Linked DNA regions of Homo sapiens: region 2 is linked to region 1. Evidence: promoter capture Hi-C in 16 types of primary human blood cells and fetal thymus (Javierre and others, 2016). All regions are on one chromosome and are shown on one strand. Each heading gives the region's core, a stretch centred on a gene start or on the middle of the fragment in contact. The rest is flanking DNA. Distances are from core to core; before and after follow the strand shown.

Region 1 (4,736 bases), core at 967-3,466:
GTGCGTGATTTCTCAGTGATTTCCTACAGTGTTGTTCCCTCCCTCAAGGCTGGGAGGAGATAAACACCAACCCAGGAATTCTCAATAAATTTTTATTACTTAACCTGAAGTCAAGGCTTCACGTGTTCATGAACTGGGTAACTGGCAGCAAGCATGCGCACGTTCACATGTGCGCTCCTGGGTCTGTCTTTGTGTGTGCCAGCAGGGGGCGCAAAAGAATCTGGCTGGGGCGGCTAAGGGGAAGCAAGGCCTGGGCTCCGAAACAGGACCCAAGCTGGGAAGGCTGGCCCTGAGTTCTCGAGGCCCAGCTGTGCTCTTCACACACCCTCCATTTCTCCCACATCACCCATTTTTTTAAGGCTGGACAGCCATGGCTTTGCTGAGCCAGATTAAAAATCTGATGACCCCAACAGGAGCTGCTTCCTTGGCAGCAGGGTTCCTTGTGGCTGTGGGGAGCCTGCCTGTGCCTGTTGAGGCACTTCTGTGCCCAGAAGCCCAGTGGATCGCGTGGCCTGCTGTAGGCCCCCCAGACTCCATTTCTCAGTCACCAGGCGTGAGGAGCTGCTAGCTAACAGGCCTCCCCTGGGGAGGTGGGCTTTTCATGCCCGCAGTTCCGGGGCCAACAGAACAGGTGCCTGTCTGTTCAGTCCACAGATAAGCTGACACTTATCTTCCCAAGACAGGCCTTCCCGAATCTCAGGCACCAGAGAAACAGAGCCACCGTTTATACCTGAATCTCCCACTACTGCCCATTTCCCATCCCTGCGGGGAGACAAGGAAGATGTGGAACTCAGACAAAACATAGGTGCAAAGTATGTCCAGGAACTGCCAAATGCAGATAGGGCAGCAGGTGGATCTGAACAGAGGGACTGGGTTAATCTGCTTCGATTTTTAAGATATTTTTCTCTGCTTGGGGTTGAGTATCATGAAAGACAAAGCAGACGTCGCAGCCCCAATCCTGAGTTGCTGGGAGGCTAAGATGAGATAAACAACTAGACAAAAGACAGGTCAAGTGACTTGGATCAGTCTTCCTCATGTTCCCCTTCACACTTTATTTATTTCATGCTCCCAAGGCGGGAAGACAATGGAGGTGCCTAGGGAACCAGTGTTTCCACATCTTGCTGCAGCTGTAAAGGCAGCCATTTTGTCTCCTTCCCATTGTTCCCCTTTGCCTAGTGATTCGTCCCCCATCCAGAGGGGTGAAGGTCAGAGGTTGTTGGTCAGTAGTCCTCCATGGTCTTCAGGGCTCCCTGAAGGTTACTGCCGAGAGAACCCACCCGGGAGCCATCTTTACCAGACAGTGTTAGGAGCTTCACAATTAGACCATCCAACACTGTACTGGAAGATGGACCCAGGGCCGGCCGACAGAGAACTACGGTGCGCGCTCACCAGTTGCTACAGGGGACCCTGGCCACAGGCCAGGTGAGGTCTCTTGAGAGGGGGCGAGCCAACCCCAAGCTCAAGGTCGACTGTGGGTTCTGGATCCACCAGGTGACAAATCGCACTGGGTGGGAGGAGGGGCTGGGGCCCATTGTGTCCCTTAGTGGCAGCCAGCCAACAAGAACCACCCCTTGTGCAACGCTCTCAGCTCAAGACGAGGGGCTTCCGGGGTGCGTGGGAAGTGGGGAGGGGGCTGCAGCCAGCTAAGGGCTGGGGACCTGAGGCGATGGATGTTGCTGACACAGGGACAGGGGCCTCCATCATTACCCGGCAGTATTAGAGACTCCCAACCGCACCCAAACACTGCTGGGTAAGACGAGGGCCCCCGCCCAGCCCGCCCACCTTGGGTCAGGCAGCTTCAGGCCCAGGATCCCTGCGGAAAAGCTGCAGATCCCTGGCTCCCATCCCCCCACCACCCGAGTCCCTGGGGACACTTCCTGGTGAGCCCTGCTGCCCGCCACCAGCCACACCCTGGGTCGCTGATCACGAGGCCCAGGTTGCAGTCCAAGCAGGCCCTCCGAAGCCCCTCGACCGTCGGCCCGCCGCCTCTGAGCCACCTTCCCCTACCCCCGGCAGCCTTTCCCGACCCGCGACACACACCGATTTACCCACCCTCATCCCCCCTCTGCAGTCCCAAGCTCAGCCCAGGACCTCTCCCCTGGTGGCCTTTACCTGTCACCGGGCCCACCTGCCCCCAGAGAGTGGGTGCTGGGGAGACGAAGGGGCTTTAAGGCCCCAGATTCCACGGCCTAGAGCCCGCCCTGGCCTCCGCTCTTCCTCCTTCCTTCTCCGCCTGCCGGGCAGCCAGCGCAGGCTCCTTACCTGGGCCCCGCCTGCCACCCTGCGCACAGGTGTGTCCTCCTGCCATAGGCTGCCCCCCCACTGCCTTAACCCCTTCCCTCCCAGCGCCAGCCACGGGCACCTCCTCTAAGGCTTGGCCACTCCTCTAGGCCTCCCACCCTCTCCCAGGGGCCTCTTTTCTCCAACCTGCCTAGTCTCACCCCTGTCTCCAGAGGTACAAAAAGCGGGGGCTGTCCTTGGGTCCCCTCCCCACAGCAGATGCTGCCCCCAGGACTAGCCCATTCCTCTGTGGCCTCAGACCCTGCCCACAGCGGAGCTGCAGGCCAGAGAGATCCCTGAGGTCAGCGAGGGGTCAGCTGGGCAGGAGTTGGGCTGTGCCGCCCCGCAGTGCCCAGCCTGTGCTGGGATCCCCTGAGGGAAAGGGGAGGGAGAAGGCCCCGCCAGGCCTGTGAAGGGCAGGCGGGTCCCAGCAAGGTGTCGCTAGTGTGAAGTTACCCACCGCTACCCAGAGACCCCAGCTGGCCCGGAGCATCAGCCTTGCCCCTCGATTGAGGCCTGCAGAGGGAACGATCGCGCTCCACTCTCCGGACCGAGCTGCTCCCGGACCCACCTCACAGCACAGCCCTCAGTGGAGTCCAAGTCCCACCCCAAGGGCAGGTAGCCCAAGGGCGGTTAGAGGAGGTGGGACTTGCCTTTGTGCAGCTGCGGCTTGTATAGAAAGGGCGTTGCTGGGAGAGGGGACCTGGGCCCGACAGGTGATTGCCCCACCCGTGCCCTGGAGGGCCACAGCCCCAGGGAGCTATTGGGTTGCTCAATCCCTCGCTGTTCTCTCTCCCAGGCTTTGTTTGCTTCCTTCTTAATACCCGCCTGCAATTATTTGATGCTTGTGATCGGTTTGTGAATCTGTCTCCCTGACCAGCCTCCTAAGTTCCAGGAGGTCGGGGGACTGTGAATGCCTGTGACGCCGGGGGCTCTGTAAGGATTTGCTGAGTAATGCACGCCCAGCCTCTGGGCTTTGGGACCTGTGCTGTCTCAGCCTTTCCAGGAGTGGGCGCCAGCACTTCCTGAGGGATGACTCCCACCGGCTTTACTCCCCAGGACACCAGTGTTTCAAATAAAGAAGAAACCCCACTCCTGACATGGGGGAAGGAAGAGGGGACAAAAAACAAAGCACTCTTCACGTCAGCCAGCTCTTCAAACTCTGCCCAAGAGGATAAGGGCAGCAGCGGCCTGGATGAGGGGAGGAGCTGGGCGTGCCCGGGTGCTCTGAGGAGCCTGTCCCTGTTCCCGCCAGAGGGGACGCAGCCGGGCTGGCCTCAGGTCTGCGCTTCCGGCTGTTAACTACTCTTCTTAGTTCAGATCTGGAACTCAGCATCAGGGGAGTGTGATCAGGGCCCCCCTGAGGGTGGCCCCAGCTGCAACTCCAGGGTAAGGAGTGTGGGCTCTGGGGTCAGACAGCCTGGGTTCGAATCCCAGCCTCACTGTTCCATAGCCCTGTGACCTTGGGCAAGTGACCAAGTTACTTAGTTTTTCTGTCCCTCAGTTTCCGCCACGGTAAAATGAGAATGACAGAAGTGCCTAGACTGAACTAACGTGTGTAGTCTTTTAGTGCCTGGGCACATGGCAAGCGTGTGATGAGTCACTGTGCCCGTCTTATCGTCAGCCGTCATCTCGGTGCTTTTCACAACCACCCTGTTATGATCGCCCTCCATTTTAAAGAAGGAGACTGGGGAGCTTCACCCACGGTCACCCTCCCACGTGCGAGGCGGAGTCCCGACCCACGTCCGTCTGACGGAAGGCGGAGCTTTCACGCGAGGCACGCACGGAGGCACACACAGTTACCCATCCTGCCCTGCCCTCTGGCCGCCCACTCACTGGGCAAGCAAAGGGCTCAGAGGCGACACACAGTGATCCCAGGGCTTTATTTACAAGAGGAGAAGGGTTGGCCCTGCCTGGGGCCTGGCTGGGCTATATACAGGGTCAGGGAGAGGTGGGGGGGATGCAGCCATTTAAATTACAAAAGAATGGGGCACTCCTAGGTTCAGGTTGTGAGTCTGTCCATCGCGAAATGCTTCCACAGGGTCAGGGCTGAGGCTGCCAAGAGAAGGGAGTGAGGGAGTGAGAGGGTAGCTGGAACCTGGAGGTGGAACAAGAGGGTCTGGGGCAGCTGGGAAGCACAGAATGAGGCTGCGGCCACCCCATCCACCCAGGGAAGGCAGTGGAGCCAAGGACACAGGGCAGGGCAGGGAGGACACCCAGGCAGAAGAGCTGTACCATGGCCACCTGAGGACAGCACCGCTCACTTCCTCTTGAGGGAACCCTTGCTCTTCTCCTTGTCTGCTGACCGCTGCTTCTTCACTTTCTCCTCCCTCTTGTTCTTAGTGTGCAGGTTCTCATACACATCCTCCTTGTGTCTGCAGCCGGGTGCAGGGGGGCAAGTACAGGCAGTTGGTGCAGGTCAGGAGACAGCACAGGGGGACCCGGCACTGGCAGTC
Region 2 (4,736 bases), core at 76-2,575, 130 kb before region 1:
TGGATCTTGCACCTTCTGTGTGCCTGCTGTCTAACTACTGATGATGTGGTCACTGCCTGATGGGGAACTGCATCAGCTCTGTGAATTCTTGCAATCTATTGCCTGGGAAAGTGTCTTGCACATTAAACAGGTAGCCCATAAATGGATGAACGGGGGTGGGGGCAGAAGGGTGGAGGTTGGAGGGATTCATCTAATAAGGGAAACAAGCAGAACAGCCTACAAAGGCTTAAGAACGCAGAGTCCTGCTCTGCAGCCCAAGCCCCTCCGTGGGATGAAGTGCCATCAGATATTTGGTGCCATGGAGAGTTGATGAAGAAAGCCTTCCAAAAACAATGAAATTGTTTTTTAATTTATTTTAACTTTTAGAGACGAGATCTCACTATGTTGCCCAGGCTGGTTTCGAACTCCTGGGCTCAAGAGATCTTCCCACCCTGGCCTCGAAAAGTGCTGGCATCACAGGCATGAGCCACCACACGTGGCCAAGAGCAAAAGTTTTAAAGCAGGACACTATGGCCTGATGGACAGGAGAGACTAGGGTCCCTCCTCCCTCCCAGGGGCCTGGCTTCATCTCAGAAAAACCGAGTCCCTCTTGCTCCACACCCGCATCCTTAGCTTCAGCCCTGGCAGTTGTGTTGAGCAGATGCTAAGGAGATGGGGACATTTTACCCCCTCCGCAGCCGCCCCAGAGGGTCTCAAACCCAGGGCTGATTTAGGGTTGCCCTGACATGGCCAACCCTATTCTATGTCCAAGTGTCATTCATGGCTAAAGCAGGCCAGGGCCCCAAGGCAACCAAGCTCCTCTCTCCTCTGCCCGCTCCCACACACCCTCCTCTGCCCCAGTGTTCCTATCATTACGTCCTGGGCATTGAAACCCGGGCCATTCTTGGACCAGGGCTGTGGGCTGAATGAGGGCAGGAAGAACAGGGTCAATGGGAAAGGACAGCCCAGAAAAGAGAATTCACCACCACCTGTGGTCTCCCACTGCTTTGGTAGGAACCTTGTAAACACAGCAGCAGCCCCCAGGAAAGTCTTGGAAGAAGGGAGAAGCTGATCAGATTTAGAGACTGAGACATCTGGGCCTCCAACCCAAGGCTCCCCGGGCCCTAAAAAGCCAGACTCCCGTCTCCTTAGCCCTTTCCCTCACCGACCAGCAGGTGGCACCACAAACAGGGATTTCAAAACCAAAACTAAATTAAAGTGGAAACTCAGATCTTTTGTTTATGCAAATAGTTCATTCCCTCCAACATTCCTCCGGGAATGGTCCCCCCTCCACTCCACAGAAAACCCTCCCCTCCCTGCTGTGCATGACGCGGGCTCCCTCTGCACACAGTGCACGAAGACGCTGTCGGGAGAGCCCAGGATTCAACACGGGCCTTGAGAAATGTGAGTAAGGGTGATGGGCAACCAGGTGGGAGGGAGAAGCCAGGGGAGAAGCCAGGGCATGGGAGGCAATTCAGGGAGACAGGAACACCCTTCTCTCTTCACACACCTCATCAGTTCCACTGTGCACACGCGTGGACACACACAACACACGCCCCATCCCTCCTCCTAGGGATCAGAGGAGACTTCATACATAGATGCTCATGCCATGGTCCTTTCTTCCCTCTGGGCTCTTGGCAGGGAGCAGCGAGAGGAGGGGACCCCTTGCCCAGGACGGGACACTCTGTGCCTGTGTCCCCCACTCCACAGATGGTTTCTCCCAGACGCTCTTGCTGAACCTGTGGGAGCCCTTTCAGAGACCCACGGGTGGAAACCCTCACCCTCCATTAACTGGTCCCAAGCCAGTCCTATTCCTGGAAGGGGAGGGGAGGGACGCGTCCGGGCAGGGGAGGAGGCTGGAAAGGGAGTGTGAGGGGAGTGTGGTGGCCTCTGGACTGGACACTGCCCTGGAGAGTGACCCGATGCAGCAGCTGCACAGGCCATCCTCCCCACCCACGCACCCCTGCTGAGAACATGTCTGTGAGGTTCAGGGTGGGCAGAGAGGAGAATGCCCAGTGGTATGGCCGTCTCATCCCCTGCCACAGCCACTGCCCACATGGCAAGAGTGCTGAACCCCTCCAGCTCCAGATACTCTCTTTTGTTTTGGCAGGTGGCTCTTGTACCTCCTGGTGCCGGCCCTGTTCTGCAGGGCAGGAGGCTCCATTCCCATCCCTCAGAAGTTATTTGGGGAGGTGACTTCCCCTCTGTTCCCCAAGCCTTACCCCAACAACTTTGAAACAACCACTGTGATCACAGTCCCCACGGGATACAGGGTGAAGCTCGTCTTCCAGCAGTTTGACCTGGAGCCTTCTGAAGGCTGCTTCTATGATTATGTCAAGGTAGGGGCAGGATGGGCGGGCAGAGGGGAGACAAAACTGGGCCCTCTGGGATCTGGGATCTGTATGGCATGCACACCCCCAGACACAGCCCAGCCCCACAAGAGCTGATGGCCAACGGCCTCTCTGAGAGCCCGGGGATGCCCTGGATGGGCGCTCACTGGTGTAGAGGCCCTCGGTGAGCACTGAGGGGAGAAGCACAGAGAAGGAAGGGGACAGGACCCACTCAGGAAATTCAACATCCACTGAGTCAGGAAAACCTTCCCCATCTGCTGTCTAGCTGAGAGTCTTTGGGAAACCACTGTGCCTCAGCTTCCCTGTCTCCAAGGAAATGATTGACATGGCTGCCTGCTTCAACAGGAACACAGGGACATGAGGAGGAGAAATGTGGGCTCTGGCAGCACAGGAATAGCCTTCAGCAAGGACAGTGTGCTCAGAACCCTCACCTCTGTGGCAACCAAGGGTACCTTCCCAGGCCTGTCTTTCTCTATCCAGTAAAAATGAGATTCAGGGCTCAAGCAGAGCCTGCGAAGGTCCAACAACTACCATTCCCAGGAGACCCCTGGAGATTATGCGTGAATTACATGACAATGGCACGTCTTACCGGCTCAGAAGACTTGGCGAGTGTGCAGTGTTGGGGGAGGGCGTTTGCTGGCAGAGTCAAGGAGAGGTTGAGGAGGCTGTGAGGAGGAAGGAAGAGGGACGAGGCAGTGCCTGCTGACACTGAGATGGGTGGGCTTCAGGGCTCATGTTCCGCCGAGGGCATCAGGAGGCACTCGAGGTGTGAATGGTTTGATTAGGCTGAGGTGGAATCTGAAGACAGAAAATAAAGCGGAGCTGTCTGAGCTCTGGGAATGAGGGGCAGGTAAAGGCTGGGTACAGACAACCAGGACCCCAGGGGAACAGGCCATAGGAGGTGGTGGGGATGGAGAAGGACCTGAAACCTGCCAGAGGAGCAGAAAACAGGGAAAGGGTGAGGTACCCAGTCCAGGACAACACGCAAAGAGTGAGTCAGTGGGAGACTCAGGGAACAGCTGAAAGTCACATGGGGAAGTTTGCAGCAGCTGAGCCCAGCAGGTAGTGACCAGCCAGAGCCATTGTGGTGCATGATGCACTCTGGGCGAGACAAGGAGGACCATCACTGAGCCACCACGTGCGCCACTCCGCAACAGATCTTCTTCCTACCCCCTGTCCTTCTTCCACCAGATCTCTGCTGATAAGAAAAGCCTGGGGAGGTTCTGTGGGCAACTGGGTTCTCCACTGGGCAACCCCCCGGGAAAGAAGGAATTTATGTCCCAAGGGAACAAGATGCTGCTGACCTTCCACACAGACTTCTCCAACGAGGAGAATGGGACCATCATGTTCTACAAGGGCTTCCTGGCCTACTACCAAGCTGTGGGTGAGTAGCCCCCCAGGGATCCCTTTTCTCTGACCTCAGCCATATTGAATGGGGGGCCAAGAAAGGGAATCTTGAATGCAAAGAAGCCGAAAGCCTGGCTTTCCTTGTTCCTCCCCTCGAGAGAGCTTTTCCTAACGAGGCCTGTCAACCTGGGCTCTGTCCCCATGGAGCAGTCCCCAGAGAGCATTGGAGAGGCCTGGAGGTCCAGGTGGCCTAAAGATGCCTTTGTCTTTAGGTCTCTGGTGAGTGACCTCCCTAAGATCAGAGCCACTACTCAGGTCTCCCAGCAGAAGCTTAACCCTCCTTCCTGAATGCCTTCCAGACCTTGATGAATGTGCTTCCCGGAGCAAATCAGGGGAGGAGGATCCCCAGCCCCAGTGCCAGCACCTGTGTCACAACTACGTTGGAGGCTACTTCTGTTCCTGCCGTCCAGGCTATGAGCTTCAGGAAGACAGGCATTCCTGCCAGGGTGAGCCAGAGTGGTGTAGCAGAGGGGAAGGGGTTGAGCCAGGGCTTGCTGGGCCAGCTGGAGTCCCCCGTAATGCCCTGTGGCTCTGCTCTCACAGCTGAGTGCAGCAGCGAGCTGTACACGGAGGCATCAGGCTACATCTCCAGCCTGGAGTACCCTCGGTCCTACCCCCCTGACCTGCGCTGCAACTACAGCATCCGGGTGGAGCGGGGCCTCACCCTGCACCTCAAGTTCCTGGAGCCTTTTGATATTGATGACCACCAGCAAGTACACTGCCCCTATGACCAGCTACAGGTACAGCCGTCCTACCCCTGAAAGACCCCTTCCTCCCCTTCTGTCTGCACTTGGCTCCTCTTGTCCCAACTTCCTCCTGGATCCCCTGGCCAGCTGGGGCAGGAACGGCCAACATCACCCATGGGCTGGGTAAGTTCCCACACAACTAGAATTGGGTCATGGGGATCCCTTTTCACCTTCCCCTGAAAACACACATAAGGCAGGATTTCATCACCACCACCACCACCCTGGCCACCAGGCTACTACCCAGTTGGCCCTG

The links. The method cuts DNA at HindIII sites, captures the fragments that hold promoters and counts their contacts. A CHiCAGO score of 5 or more calls a contact.
Region 2: the fragment with the promoter of C1R here is called in contact with the fragment with the promoter of MIR200CHG in region 1 in 16 of 17 cell types (naive CD8 T cells, erythroblasts, M2 macrophages and 13 more); the score reaches 16.5 in naive CD8 T cells.

Annotation. Positions count from the first base shown.
Region 1 is chr12:6,960,725-6,965,460 of GRCh38, reverse strand. It overlaps MIR200CHG (MIR200C and MIR141 host gene), which reads right to left and starts at 2,216. Exons shown (of 2, transcript NR_135032.1): 1 at 2,113-2,216; 2 at 1,014-1,260. MIR200C (microRNA 200c) reads right to left here and starts at 1,762; the gene lies at 1,695-1,762. It overlaps MIR141 (microRNA 141), which reads right to left and starts at 1,364; the gene lies at 1,270-1,364. LOC105369634 (a long non-coding RNA gene) reads left to right here and starts at 2,362. Exons shown (of 2, transcript XR_931601.2): 1 at 2,362-2,922; 2 at 3,340-3,829. It also overlaps PTPN6 and PHB2. RefSeq lists enhancers at 470-519, 2,302-3,103, 3,345-3,554, 3,363-3,881, 3,104-3,903 and 1 more. The HindIII fragment of the contact is 14,599 bases long and covers 1-4,736 here.
Region 2 is chr12:7,089,034-7,093,769 of GRCh38, reverse strand. It overlaps C1R (complement C1r), which reads left to right and starts at 1,325. Exons shown (of 11, transcript NM_001733.7): 1 at 1,325-1,383; 2 at 2,090-2,318; 3 at 3,522-3,714; 4 at 4,037-4,183; 5 at 4,281-4,477. The coding sequence starts at 1,382. RefSeq lists an enhancer at 983-1,277. The HindIII fragment of the contact is 12,054 bases long and covers 1-4,009 here.